3 separate regions of the Homo sapiens genome follow, and regions 2 and 3 are each linked to region 1. The links are contacts of gene promoters, found by promoter capture Hi-C in blood cells and fetal thymus (Javierre and others, 2016). All regions are on one chromosome and are shown on one strand. Each heading gives the region's core, a stretch centred on a gene start or on the middle of the fragment in contact. The rest is flanking DNA. Distances are from core to core; before and after follow the strand shown.

Region 1 (4,493 bases), core at 1,039-3,538:
CACCATACCCAATCACAAATGCTCACAAATATCCAACTTTTGTCATTGTTTAGGAAATAATTATTCTAGAATTTCTGTCAGTATATTGAATACAGTATAAGCTTTAGATAATGTTAATTCAAGACCACCTAATCCAAACGTATCATTTCCCAGATGAATAAACTGAGAGTTGGAGAGGGTAAATGTCTTAACCAAGGCCACAGCGATACTTTGCAGCATTACCCAGGTCTTCTGACTTCACATGATCCTTGCTGCATTAAAGGTAGCCCTTTCCTACCTGGGCTTCCCACCAGTTGCAAATTTGTGTTAGAAACAGAATCAATTGTAGTAGCGCTACGGTCAGGAGAGCAGTTGTTCAAAGTGTCAGGACATGGGAAAAAGGCCAGAGAATGATGCAATATTACACTGGCAAGTGATGTCATAGCATGATTTCCCAAGCGATTTACATAAATGCAAGTTCTCAAGAAGCCCTGACAAATGCCAGCCAGTGAAAATGCAGTGTGAAGAACCAATGGCAAGCAGGGGAGGGGACCACACAGGAAACGCAGATTTCCTTGCCCACCACTGTGACAAGCTTCACAGATTTCTCGGAAGCCTAAGAAAACCCCTACTGCCCCTCTAATCCAGTGACTTCCCTCAGGCACATAGGCTCCAAAGAGCTTTGATTTTCTTCCTTATCTTTCTATTTACTCCCAGTGATATCCAAGCATTGCCTACTGGTGCTGAGAGTGACTTCTGGTGTGGTGAAAGCAAGTTTAATAGTGTGATAGGCTACAAAAGGGCTTTATATTTTTAAATTGCTCTTTCTTCTTCATTATAAGTTATAACTACTCCCTAATTTTTAGAACTAGAAATGACGAACTGCAATTCTTGGAGAATCAGTCTTTTGTAAATGTCATGGAAATACCTTTTTAGGGGTTTGGGAATGATTTAGGAATGAAGACAGGTGGATACAAAATACCAAGACTTCAGTTTTGTTGTGATCCAAACTAATAAAACATGTATCAATAAGGATTTTTTCTTAAAATGTGTGCATAGGGTGTGGGTGGGAGTAGGGGTTTACATATGTTACCCTGTTACTGATTGGCAGTGGAAGTTCATGACAATATCTAGTTAGAGCAAACTCAGGAGAAACTGATAAGTCTATGTTGAGAAATAATGAAATAGCTCAGAATGTGCCAGACCGGGTCAGGATCTCTCTCTCTCTCTCTCTCTCTCTCTCTCTCTCTCTCTCTCTCTCTCTCTCTCTCTCTCCCCCCTCACTTCTTTCCTCTTGTCCCTTCTCCTCCCTTCCCTCCCCCTCCCTTCGAAATCCAATTTAAGCAGGGTTAAAGACCCCATCTCAAGCCAGAGATCCAAGCAGTTGACAATATGCCTAGGGATTTTGGATTTGAAGACTTTTCTAAACTGCAGAAGCTGCCTAGAGTGTGACAAAAATCTCATCTCATGAAGCTTATACTAAAAACAATCAACAAGACCCAACCCCTTTAACCCACATGGCGTCAGTCTTGCTGTTAACAGAGTCTGGGCACCTGCACATTCTCAGCAATAATTTGAACTTCTCTTCTTTCCTTATCACCATTTCCATCTCCTCCAAACACCCACCAGAATATCAGAACTGGATTATTCAGAGCTATTGAGAGGAAATTGTAAATACCTTCTAGGCAGCAGGTCCTCCACAGCCCCGAATGGGTCATTACTTCTTCATTCTTCCTGCTGGTTTCATTATCACTTGTAGATTTAGTCCTGCACACACCTCTGGAATATAACCAGTAGTCCGTGCCCACTGCAATGGTCATTAAACTAAAAGCGGCAAAGGCTCCTACAGTGGTGATCAACATCTGGATACCTCTGTCACACATCCTCATAATTCTTCATGGTACTCTGGACGGCTGGGGGTTGGAGGGGGAGAGTCAGTGCCGGAGGGGAAAATCACTCTGCAGCCGGGTAACCTAGTACAGGCTCTTCCAAAAATTCAGGTCTCCTTTTGTCAGCATCCACAGGGACTTTGGGAAAGCTGGGATTTCCTTTCTGGAGCTCTCTCCAGTTCCCTGGGTCGCCTATGGCCCTCGGAAGGGTGCAGGCTCCGGGGGGTTGGTCCGCATCACTGCTGCCTTCTGAGGGTCCCTGGGTTCCTTTCATTCCTCAGGAGCGTGGTAAAGACGAGGGTCCGTGCAGGGCATGGCTCCGGAGCCTGGAGCTGCCAGCTCGGTTTGAGATGCGCCTGGCTTCTCACAGCCCCGGGAGACTCAAGGCAAAGAAACCCAGAGAGGTCTCTGTGTGAGTGTGTGTGTGTGTGTGTGTGCGTGCGTGCGTGTGTGTGCGAGCGCGTGTGCTGGGGGTGAGGGCGGATGGCAAAAAATAGCACTGCTGGGAGGCGAGCCGCTGAGAAGAGTGTTCACTGCTTCCACAGCCTCGCAGGAAAGCTCTCCGCCTGCTCCCGACACCCCCGCTCAAACTGGAGAAAAGACAGAGTCCTGGGGCGGGGGCCGGCTGGTTTCCCTGGGGGCGCCAAGGTCCGTGGTGCTGAAGGGACAGCTCCCCGCCTGTTGCCCCGCCTCCGTCGTCTTAACGCCTAGGCTTTAAGGTCCGTGGTGCCGAAGGGACAGCTCCCTCATGCAGCTGCACACCGCCGCCCGGGCTAGAAACCCGGGGTGCTAAAGGGTCTTTCTTCCCTCACCCCGCCCTTCCCCCGTTCCTTCCCGGGTCAGCCAGCCGGCTCGGCTCTGCCCAGTCAAGCCCACTCTCCGCGCAAAGTTTCTGGAGCCGAGGACAGTCAGCGCCCTGGCTCCTGGGCGCTGCAGCACGACCCGGTTCCTCCGCTCTAGGAAGGGTTAAGGAAAGGGGAAGGGGAGCGAAGCCCGTAGCGCACTCTGGCGCTCCCTCAGCACCCACCCAACGCGGCATTCTTCAATCCTCCCTTTCACCCCATGAGCCAGGCAAGTTTGCCTTTTGCTGCGGGCACCACTGGAGCCCATTGGGGAAAAAGAAGACCCGAAAGACCGAGTCTTCTTAAAGGCACCGGCAGCTCTGGAGACGGCTCTATGGCTCGCTTAGGCGGGCAAAAAGTGTTGTCACAATCACATCTGTGTAGAGTCTGTCTCAATTTGGTTCCCCAGCAAACAAACCAATATGTCTACCCTCCTTTCTCTGGAGCTCTGGTTTACACCGAAGACAACCCGCTCAGATCAGACCCGGAACTGTTCATATATACATGATCATGTATTCCTAAAAGATGGAAGAAGCTAAATATACATAGACTCTGTCATACACATATTAGGGACCTTGGGCAAAAGACTATAAGATTTTGGCCTTTGAATATGCCTTTTATACATTTTAACATATCTACATCGAAGGGGGTGATGGATTCATGGTGGGAGAGTCACTGAAAATGTCAGATTTTGTTCAAAGGTCTCTGAGATATCATTTGTTAACATTGTTATCTAAGTGAGACCATGAAGCAGGTGAAGTTAGGTCTGCTTTGCTTGTTAGTCCAAAGGGCAAATGGCATTGCACACCTGAAAGCTCTCTTCCTTGGAAATAGCCAGTATTGCAAAGGACCAGCATTTAACCAGCTTTTTATTACTATGTATTCCGGCATATGCATGGGCACACACCGAGTTGACTAGAAACAGCCCACAGAAATGCCCTTATTATTTTTTTTCTTATGGCATCCTGGGACTGATATCCAGAGGTCAGATAGTTGGAAATGAGGTTGCTTGGGTTGTTTCCACAGTTCCTGAGATGTGTCCGCAACCAACTGTCATGTTTGAATGTTATTTAGCTGGACAGAAATATAACGGGAGGTAATCGCAGACAAACATACTCCCCTGGTGCCATCTCTGGCTGCCTGGGAACTTCTATTCAGGTGACTGGGTAGCAGGAATATATTGAAGGGTTCGCAAATGCAGCTCACAACTTCTTGGTGACTTTGCTACTTTCATTTTGGTGTTAAGACTGAAGACTTTATTCTTGGTGTTAGATAAATACTCATGTGCAGGAGGAAGTTTGAATATATAGCTGTGGAGTGATTGTGTTTGAATGCTCACCTGTGCTATGTTCAGTTTAGTTATAAATTCTGAATGCCTGTGAATCCGTCATAGAAGTAAAGCAAGTATGTAAATGTATGTTTGTACCTGCAGACAGTGTTATGGACCATGTGAACATATTTGCTGCAAATGCCTAGCATTTTTGCTATGCATATGCATACATATTTGCACATGTATGTGTATGCATGCACGTGTGTAGGTATAGTATAGATTTGAATATGTAGGTGTGTATACCTATGAGCATTTAGTTGCATATGCATGTGTCGTGGTTCAAAAACACTGATTTATGGACAGGAGGTAGAAATACTGAAATCTTGCCACATAATCCACAATGGAATGGATAAACTTGGGGCCAGCACCACAGCCGTACTCCAGAAGAATGACAGAAGATAGTAGGGAGAGGATACACGAGGGCCCCTACAAGTTTCTTAGTGTCATTTTCTT
Region 2 (4,190 bases), core at 629-3,128, 550 kb after region 1:
CCTAACTGACCCCTATATATAACCCCTGAAAGCTAACCCTAAGTAGCCTCTTCCATAGACCGACTCCCCAGGTGACCCCGACCACTCCCCACCATTTTTTGTGAGATGGGGTCTCACTCTGTCACCCAGGCTGGAGTGCAGTACTGTGATCACAGCTTACCGTAGCCTCCAACTCCTGGGCTGAAGTGATCCCCTATCCTCAGCCTCCTGAATAGCTGGGACTGCAGATGTGTACCACCAAGCCTGGCTCATCTTTTAATTTTTGTGTAGAGATGGGGTCTTGCTATGTTGCCCAGGCTGGTCTCAAACTCCTGGGCTTAAGTAATCCTCCTGTCTTGGCTTCCCAAAGTGCTGGGATTACGAGCATAAGCCACCACACCTGGCCCACCCCCTTGATATTATGACTGATACCCAACTGCCTGAGTGACCTTACAGGTGCCCCAAGGCCCCCTCAAGCCCTGATTCCATCATTCTGCATGAGACCCTACACAGGTCACCTCAGCAGAGGTGAGGTCACCTACTCGCCCCAACTGACCCCTCTCACACTGTAAGTGACTCCCAAGTGACCCAAATGCCTCCAGGCCACCCTGATTGATCCATCCCAGGTGACCATATGTTGACCATGAGCAATACCCCACCATCCTAAGTGACCCAAACTGACTCCCACACATCTGAGTCACCTTTGAATGACCCTGACTGATGGCCTCGTTTTCAAAGTGACTCCATGAACTCCAACAAACATTCTCATGTCCAGATAACCCTCCATGTGATCTCCACACACCAGACTGACCCCTCACCCAGAGGGCACACCCTTGGACCCTCTTAGGAGAGCTTCCAACCACATCTCCCCAGCCACCTTTCTCGGCAGACATGAGCCACCTGGCGTCCTGCGGGATGGGCCTGCTGCTCACTGTGGACCCAGGAAGCGGGACGGTGCTGTGGACACAGGACCTGGGCGTGCCTGTGATGGGCGTCTACACCTGGCACCAGGACGGCCTGCGCCAGCTGCCGCATCTCACGCTGGCTCGAGACACTCTGCATTTCCTCGCCCTCCGCTGGGGCCACATCCGACTGCCTGCCTCAGGCCCCCGGGACACAGCCACCCTCTTCTCTACCTTGGACACCCAGCTGCTGTAGGTGTTCGTGCCTGGGGCCCAGGGAGGGAGCCATCTGGGAGTGTCGCAACCTGGGTCTGATGGCCAGGCGAGATGTTCAGCTGTGACACACCAGTACCGCTGAACCAGGGGTCAAAACATTTCAAATTGGTTACTTACCCAACTGGTTGGTAAATAACCAGTGTCCTCTGCTGCCCTCCAAGTGTCCCCGGGACCCCCTGGGTAGCCCCCACTGTTCAGCAACTCATACGGTAAGATCTGGCCTAGGAGGGTGTATTAGTCTGTTTCATGCTGCTGATAAAGACATACCCAAGACTCGGCAATTTACAAAAGAAAGAGGTTTAATTGGACTTTCAGTTCCACGTGGCTGGGGAAGCCTCACAATCATGGCAGAAAGCAAGCAGGAACAAGTCACATCTTACGTGGATGGCGGCAGGCAAAGAGAGAAGCTTGTGCAGGGAAACTCCCCCTTATAAAACCATCAGATCTTGTGAGACTTATTCACTATCACAAGAACAGCATGGGAAAGACCTCATGATTCAATTACCTCCCACCGGGTCCCTACCACAACCCATGGAAATTCAAGATGAGATTTTGGTGGGGACACAGCCAAACCATATCAGAGGGGGACTCCAGGTCTTAACCTGTTCTGGTTGGTAGGTGCTGTGCCTTATGGATTGTTAAATACTTTAAATAACAACCTTATTTAACTTACCTTATTTAACAACTTATTTAAGGTATTATTGCATCTAATACCTTAGTGTCCCCATCTTGATAAACCAGTAGACAGCTTGGGAAAATCAGGGATCATCTATTCATTCAATTCATTCTGCAAATATTAATTGAGCACTTACTGTGTGCCAGTCTCACTAGAGTCTGGGAGTACAATAGCAAATAACCCAGCCATTGTTCCTGCCTCAGGAACCCGAGTCTAATGGGAGAGACAGATATGTGAAGAGACTATTGCAACCTGATATGATAAAGGATGAGATGAAAGTAGTATAAGATGCCATGGGAATGTATAGGAAGAGTACCCACATCAAGACTGGGGACAGGAGGCAGTCATGGAAAGCTTCCTAGAGGAAGGAACATCTAAACTGAAACCTAAAAAATGAATAGGAAATGAGAGAGATGAGAGAGCATAGAATTCAGGTAACAGGAAAAAATTAAATAAGACTGAAATACAGACCTGAGAAAGGAGTAGAGCCTGAGATTATAAGCTAAGAAGAGATCTTGTAGGATCATTTAAAGGGCTTGGACATTTTCTCCTAAAGTTAAAAAGTCACTGGAGAGTTTTAAGGAAGGAAGTGATTTAATCATATTTTCATTTTAGAAAGAATATCTTAGAATGGTATATGGAAAGAAGTGGACCATTCATGGAATATTGATTTGTTCAGGCAAGAAATGAAGATACTTTATACTAGAGCAGAAACTAGAGAGAGGAAAATAGGTGGAGTGTAAGATATATTAGAAGGAAGAACTAGTAAAAATTTGGTGATTAGGGAGTTTGACGATTGTGAGCAAGGAGTCAAAGATCATGCTCAGGTTTCTAGAAGCACGTGGGTACTGTCATTTTCAGAGGCAGGGAACACTAGAGGAGGTGGGGGAGAAGAAGGAGGAAGAAGTAAAGGACGATGTAATGAGTTTATATTTAGAAAATTGAGCTCTTGAAAGAGGTCTGGGTTAGACATAGATTTGAAATCATGACTATGGAACATGTATCAGCTAGCTTTAGCTGCATAACAAATTGCCCCAAAACAGAGAACTTAAAAAACAACAGTTTATTATTTTTCAAGATTCTGTGGGTCAGCTGGGGTGGGTTGTTTTTCTGCAGTCTGCTCATGGCTTGGTTGAGTCTGGAGAATCTAGGATGGCCTCACTTACCTATCTCATAGTTGATGGACTGTTTGACCTATGGGGGATTAAAGAGATCTCTCACACCCCAGCAGGCTAGCCTGGGTTTTCTCCCACGGTGGTCTCAGGGTCTAAAGAAAAATGCATAAGGAAGCCTGAAGGCACAAGCACTTTTCAAGCCTCTACTTATGTCACATTTGCTGTTGTCTAATTGATTAAAGCAAGTCTCATGGCTAAGCTGAGTCAATGTGAGAGGGAAATATACAAGGGCATGAGTACCTTGATAACTGAAACTACCCATCACCAGCATTCATTCTTCTCTTCTTTTTCTTCTCTCCCACTAGAATGACGCTGTATGTGGGGAAGGATGAAACTGGCTTCTATGTCTCTAAAGCACTGGTCCACACAGGAGTGGCCCTGGTGGTAAGAAGTGGTCTCTGAGTGGGCTGGAAAGAGGATGAACGGGAGAAGAACCTCCCTCACTCATGGCTCTCCATCTTCTGCCATAGCCTCGTGGACTGACCCTGGCCCCCGCAGATGGCCCCACCACAGATGAGGTGACACTCCAAGTCTCAGGAGAGCGAGAGGGCTCACCCAGCACTGCTGTTAGATACCCCTCAGGCAGTGTGGCCCTCCCAAGCCAGTGGCTGCTCATTGGTGAGATCCTCTGGCTCAAATTGGGAGTAGATGAAGATAAAGAACCTGTGAGCCCAGCTTCTGAGCTGGAAAGCTAAGGTCCCCTTCAGCCTGATGACTTTTGCCCCCCACCTTAGGACACCACGAGCTACCCCCAGTCCTGCACACCACCATGCTGAGGGTCCATCCCACCCTGGGGAGTGGAACTGCAGAGACAAGACCTCCAGAGAATACCCAGGCCCCAGCCTTCTTCTTGGAGGTCAGTGCTGGGAGGGGAGAGAGTGGGGGTAGGGAGGCCCCAGCAGATGGGGGGAATAGCCCTTGGATCTTTTCCTCGGGCTGCTAAGAATAACACTCGGGGGTGGGTCAATTGACCTCACACAATTTCCCAGACTTTTTGTTGGGAACAACACAACTTGTTGTTGTTGTTGTTGTTGTTACTGCCAGAAACACGTTAGAAGTGTTAAAAAGTGGCTGGGCAGGTGATTCATGCTTATATTCTCAGCACTTTGGGAGGTCAATGTGGGAGGATGGATGGCTTGAGGTCAGGAGTTTGAGACCAGCCTGGGTAATATAACAAGACCC
Region 3 (4,311 bases), core at 1,169-3,668, 580 kb after region 1:
GTAAGGTTGTGGAGACTCTCCCTCCTCCTCCTCCGCTGTACCCATGACCTAGGCTGCAGAAATCCGACAGGATACACCAGTGACAGGGAAAGATATGACAATTAGGCTTTGTTTGGGGATGACTTGTCCCTTGGAGTAGGCTTTCTGTAAAGCAGGCCGAAAGGTCCACAGAAAAGGTCAGCCAGGTAGGATGTCCCAAAGTTGCCCCTGCTGAGACCAGGTTGGTCCAGAGACAACTCCCAACTTACATGATACACCCAATGGACCACACATCCACCTCGAAACTGTGCCCTTTCTTGCTCAGCACCTCGGGAGCTATGTAATTAGGAGTCCCACACAGGGTCTTCTTCCTCTCCCCGTCATATTCGACTTTGGTTGCCAGTCCAAAATCCCCTGGGACAGAGGGAGGAAGAGTTGGTACTTAGATGCCAGCCTCTGACATCTGTCAATGCAGAAGGCTAGTTAAGGTTTGACCATCCAGAACCAGGGCCATCTGATCCCACAAGCCTCTGCTCCTTGTATGTAGCAAGGCTTGCCCAGGAATCTTCCTCCCATGCTGACACCAGGGAGGTGCCTCCAGTGACACTTCTCACCCCTCCTTTTAGAAAGGGGCTATGCTTTGAAACAGGAACTGACAGGGATAGTAAAACTCCAATGCCTTCAAGGATCAAGCAAGTTAACCTCCAAGACTTGGCAAGTCTGTGAAGAATAGGGAGGAGTAGAGACTGTGGCAAAGAAGTCTGAAGGGGACAGCTGTTTTCCAGCCCAGCAAAGGGCTGCCCTAAGAAAATGCTGTCCTCGTATTACTGAAGCTTTCACCTGTTTAAAAGGAGTTCTGAATCAAACTTTTTGTTCAATCAAACCTTCCAATTTAAAAAATAAAAACAAATTCAAATTCTTTGTAAAAAAAAAATATTGCATTGGGGCACAAAAAAATAATGCATCTGTAGGCAAGATACTGACTTGTGGGTTGTCTCCTTCCTTTCTCCCAGCCTCCTCCAAATTCCAGCCTCTTGTAGTGATGTCAAGCACCCCTGCAGGCTCAGCAACTCACCTATTTTCACCTCCAGATCTTCATTCAGGAAAAGGTTGCCCAGCTTGAGGTCTCGATGAATAACTCGGTTTCGGTGCAGGTACTGGCAGCCAAGCACAATTTGCCGTAGGTAGTATCGGGCCTCAGGCTCAGTCAGGGCTTTCCTCCTCTTGTGCAGCTCCAGGAGAGACTGTGGGTGGGAAGGAGAGGGCAGGAGGGATGGGGAGGTGGATTGAGGCCGGTGGGGAAGGGAGAGGGTTACCAGGCAAAGGAAGCACAGGACTGGACTCTGGACTCCCAAGGGATGAAAGAGGGGTCTTGGTGGGTTTCTCTCCTTCCCTATGCCCCCACCCCATTCCTTCTCCAGCACAGCGGCATCTGGACCCTGCCTTAACACTGTCCACAACCATTCGCAGCACCCCTTCTCCTACTAGCTTCCCCCCTTACCTGGGGGTCCTCTCTCAGCCCCACTCCGGAAGCTCCGAGTCCCCAGCACCAGATCCCTTTCCTGACTCGTATCTCCCCCGGAAGGCCCGAAGTCTGGCTCCAACTACCCCCCCACTGACCCAGCTCCACCCCAGAAGCTCCCAGGGCGCGGCATCACTAACCTGGGACTCCTCCCTGGGTACTCCAGGGCCCTAGCGTCCATTACCAGCACCCCTCCCCCCAGCACCTCGCGTCCAGAAGCTGACTTCCCTATCAGCAACATGACTCAGACTCCACTTCACTGGAACCCCCTCCTCTAGCAGCTCCCAGAGCCAAGAAGCCCTTACCAAAGACACTTTCCATACGTAAGCGGGAGGCTCCCAGCACCCTTCTCTAGCAGCTCCAAGTCCCAGGCTCTCCCTTGCTGGGTACTCTTTCCAGCAGCTCCAGGTCTGGGCGCTCCAACTGCCCCGCAGGCAGTTCCAGTTCCCCAGCAGCGACACTCACCCTCCGGCGGCAGAGCTCCAACACCACGAACACGAAGTCGTTGTCCTCGAAAAAGCCGTGGAATCCTACGACGTGCTGGTGGGCGAGGCTGCGGTGAATGGATATTTCCATGGACATCTTCTCCCTCTGGTGCGGCTTGAGCAGCAGAGACTTAGGCACAATCTTGCCCGCGAACACCTCCTTGGTGTCCGCGTCCGAGATCTCGAAGCACTTGGCAAAGCCGCCCTTGCCCAAAAAGCGGCCCCGCACATAGCGCCGCCGGCTGCGTGGGTCCACTAGGACCTCCGGGATCTCTTTCGCCGGTGGAGCCGCCGCCGGAGCTCCGGGAGCTGCAACTCCGGGGACCCCGGCTTTCCCAGGGTCGGCCGGTGCCCGTGCCAGCTTCCCTGCAGTCACTGCAGCACTCATGCTCCCGAAGCTGCGCTGCAGACCTCGATCCGAGCAGAGCCTCCGCACCGCTCCGCTCCTCCCCGAATTCAAACGCGGCGCTGGGAACGTTACAAAAGCCTGCGCGCCACTGATTGGCCGCGGGGATTTAAAATCCAAACCCGCCCGCCGCGCGGCACCATGGGAGCGCCCTGCGCAGCAGCAGCCTTTAAACCCGGACCCAGCCGGGGAAAACCTGATTGACACGGACGCCCGAACACGTGGGATAGCCTGGGAAACCAAACCCGGCGTGGATGCGGAGACCCAGCCCCGAGAGAGGAGGAATTCCTTCGGGGTTTCTCCCTTTCTCGGGCGTCCGGGAAAGCTCCTGCGGTTCACTTGCGCCTCCTCCAGGAAGCTTTTACTTAAATCTTCCTCTACCTCGGGGCCAGGGAACAGTAGCATCGCCATCACCTGAGAGCTTGTTAGAACCGCAAAGGCAAACGTTCAGGCCCTACCCCAGACCTCCCGAGTCAGTGTCCGCCTCTCAACAAGACTGCTCAGGTGATTCCTACACATCCTGAAGTTGGAGAAGCACAGTACCAGAGCCCCCCATGATGCAACGAAGCTGTCTGGCCTCCTCGCTACTGAATTTCCCAGGGCCTAAAATAGTGGACACTCAGTTTCTTGGTCAGAGGGAGGGAAGGTTGGAAGAATGCCTAGCAAACTGGCAGGTCATAGCCAAATGTGTCTTGCGGGGTTTTGTTTGGCCTCCCCCCACGCCTTTTTTTTGTGTGTGTGACGGAATCTTGCTCTGTCGCCCAGGCTGGAGTGCAGTGGCACGATCTCAGCTCACTGCAACCTCTGCTTCCCGGGTTCAAGCAATCCTCCCGCCTCGGCCTCCCTAGCAGCTGGAATTACAAGCATGCACCACCATGCCCGGCTAATTTTTGTAATTTTAGTAGAGAAGAGGTTTCACCATGTTGGCCAGGCTGGTCTTGAACTCCTGACCTCAAGTGATCTGCCCCTCGGCCTCCCAAATGCTGGGATTACAGGCGTGAGCCACCGCGCCCCGCCATTGTAAAACATTTACAGCATTTAAAAGAGGAGCTCATAAAAGTTGGGATTTGTGGCCTTTCCTGAAAAAAATCAGCTCTAGCTACTTACTCTGTGCCTACATGCTTTCAGTTTGCCACAGTTTACAGCTACACCCGTTTGTTCTGTAGGTACTTGAGTGGCAACCCTGGAACAGTAAAATACCCACGTTAAAAGCTCTTTCTCTGTGCCTCCTTAGCACCCTCTGATCCTTCATAGAGCCCAGCAAAAATCAACCATACTATAAGCATCCTTCACCTGCCTTGCAGCTAAGCTGAAGGACAATGAGGACAATGATGCCGTCCTTTCTACCCCATGTCCCAAGCTCCCAGAGCAGTGCTTGGTAAAAAAAAAAGGGTACTTACTAAAATGTTGGCTGAATAAAAGGAAGACTTTGAAAAATTAAGTTATTTTGTACCCCTATAGTGTGAATTCTTTTTATTGAAATTTAATACACTTACAGAAAAAAATGTACATATTATAATTGTTCATAGAGCTCAGTGAATTTTCACAAACTGAACAAATCTGTAAACCACACCCAGATTGAGAAAGGGAACATGACAAACACCCTGCAAGTCTCCCTTGTGCCCTGTGCTGGGGGGTGCCAACACCACCACCTCCTAGTCTGATGATGTACTAGGAGATTCACAGACTCAGCCTGTAGTCATACTCATGGCTATGTTTTACTACAGCGAAAGGCTAGGAAGCAAAATCAGCAAAGGAAAAAAGCGCATGGACAAAGTCCAGGGAAACCAGGTGTAAGCCTCCCACAGTCCTCTCCCAGCAGAGTCACATAGGACACAATTCCTCCAGCAATCAGTTGTGACAACCCATGTGCAATGTTGTATACAAGGGAAGCTCATTACAGACTCAGTGTTCAGGGT

The links. Contacts are between HindIII fragments. The CHiCAGO score rates a contact against its expected background, and 5 or more counts as called.
Region 2: a fragment that was not itself captured here is called in contact with the fragment with the promoter of CACNG3 in region 1 in 1 of 17 cell types (total B cells); the score reaches 5.1 in total B cells.
Region 3: the fragment with the promoter of PLK1 here is called in contact with the fragment with the promoter of CACNG3 in region 1 in 9 of 17 cell types (naive CD8 T cells, total B cells, megakaryocytes and 6 more); the score reaches 11.3 in naive CD8 T cells.

The regions. Positions count from the first base shown.
Region 1 is chr16:24,254,130-24,258,622 of GRCh38, reverse strand. It overlaps CACNG3 (calcium voltage-gated channel auxiliary subunit gamma 3), which reads right to left and starts at 2,288. Exons shown (of 4, transcript NM_006539.4): 1 at 1,658-2,288. The coding sequence starts at 1,868. RefSeq lists an enhancer at 1,813-2,540. The HindIII fragment of the contact is 7,529 bases long and covers 1,455-4,493 here.
Region 2 is chr16:23,701,826-23,706,015 of GRCh38, reverse strand. ERN2 (endoplasmic reticulum to nucleus signaling 2) reads left to right here. Exons shown (of 22, transcript NM_033266.4): 8 at 869-1,133; 9 at 3,314-3,392; 10 at 3,479-3,626; 11 at 3,743-3,864. Among named protein-coding and RNA genes, the nearest start is that of ERN2, 9.3 kb to the left of the region's middle. RefSeq lists an enhancer at 534-1,034. The HindIII fragment of the contact is 623 bases long and covers 1,567-2,189 here.
Region 3 is chr16:23,676,996-23,681,306 of GRCh38, reverse strand. PLK1 (polo like kinase 1) reads right to left here and starts at 2,418. Exons shown (of 10, transcript NM_005030.6): 1 at 1,967-2,418; 2 at 1,055-1,223; 3 at 249-393. The coding sequence starts at 2,374. It overlaps DCTN5 (dynactin subunit 5), which reads right to left. Exons shown (of 6, transcript NM_032486.4): 6 at 3,835-4,311. The HindIII fragment of the contact is 1,938 bases long and covers 815-2,752 here.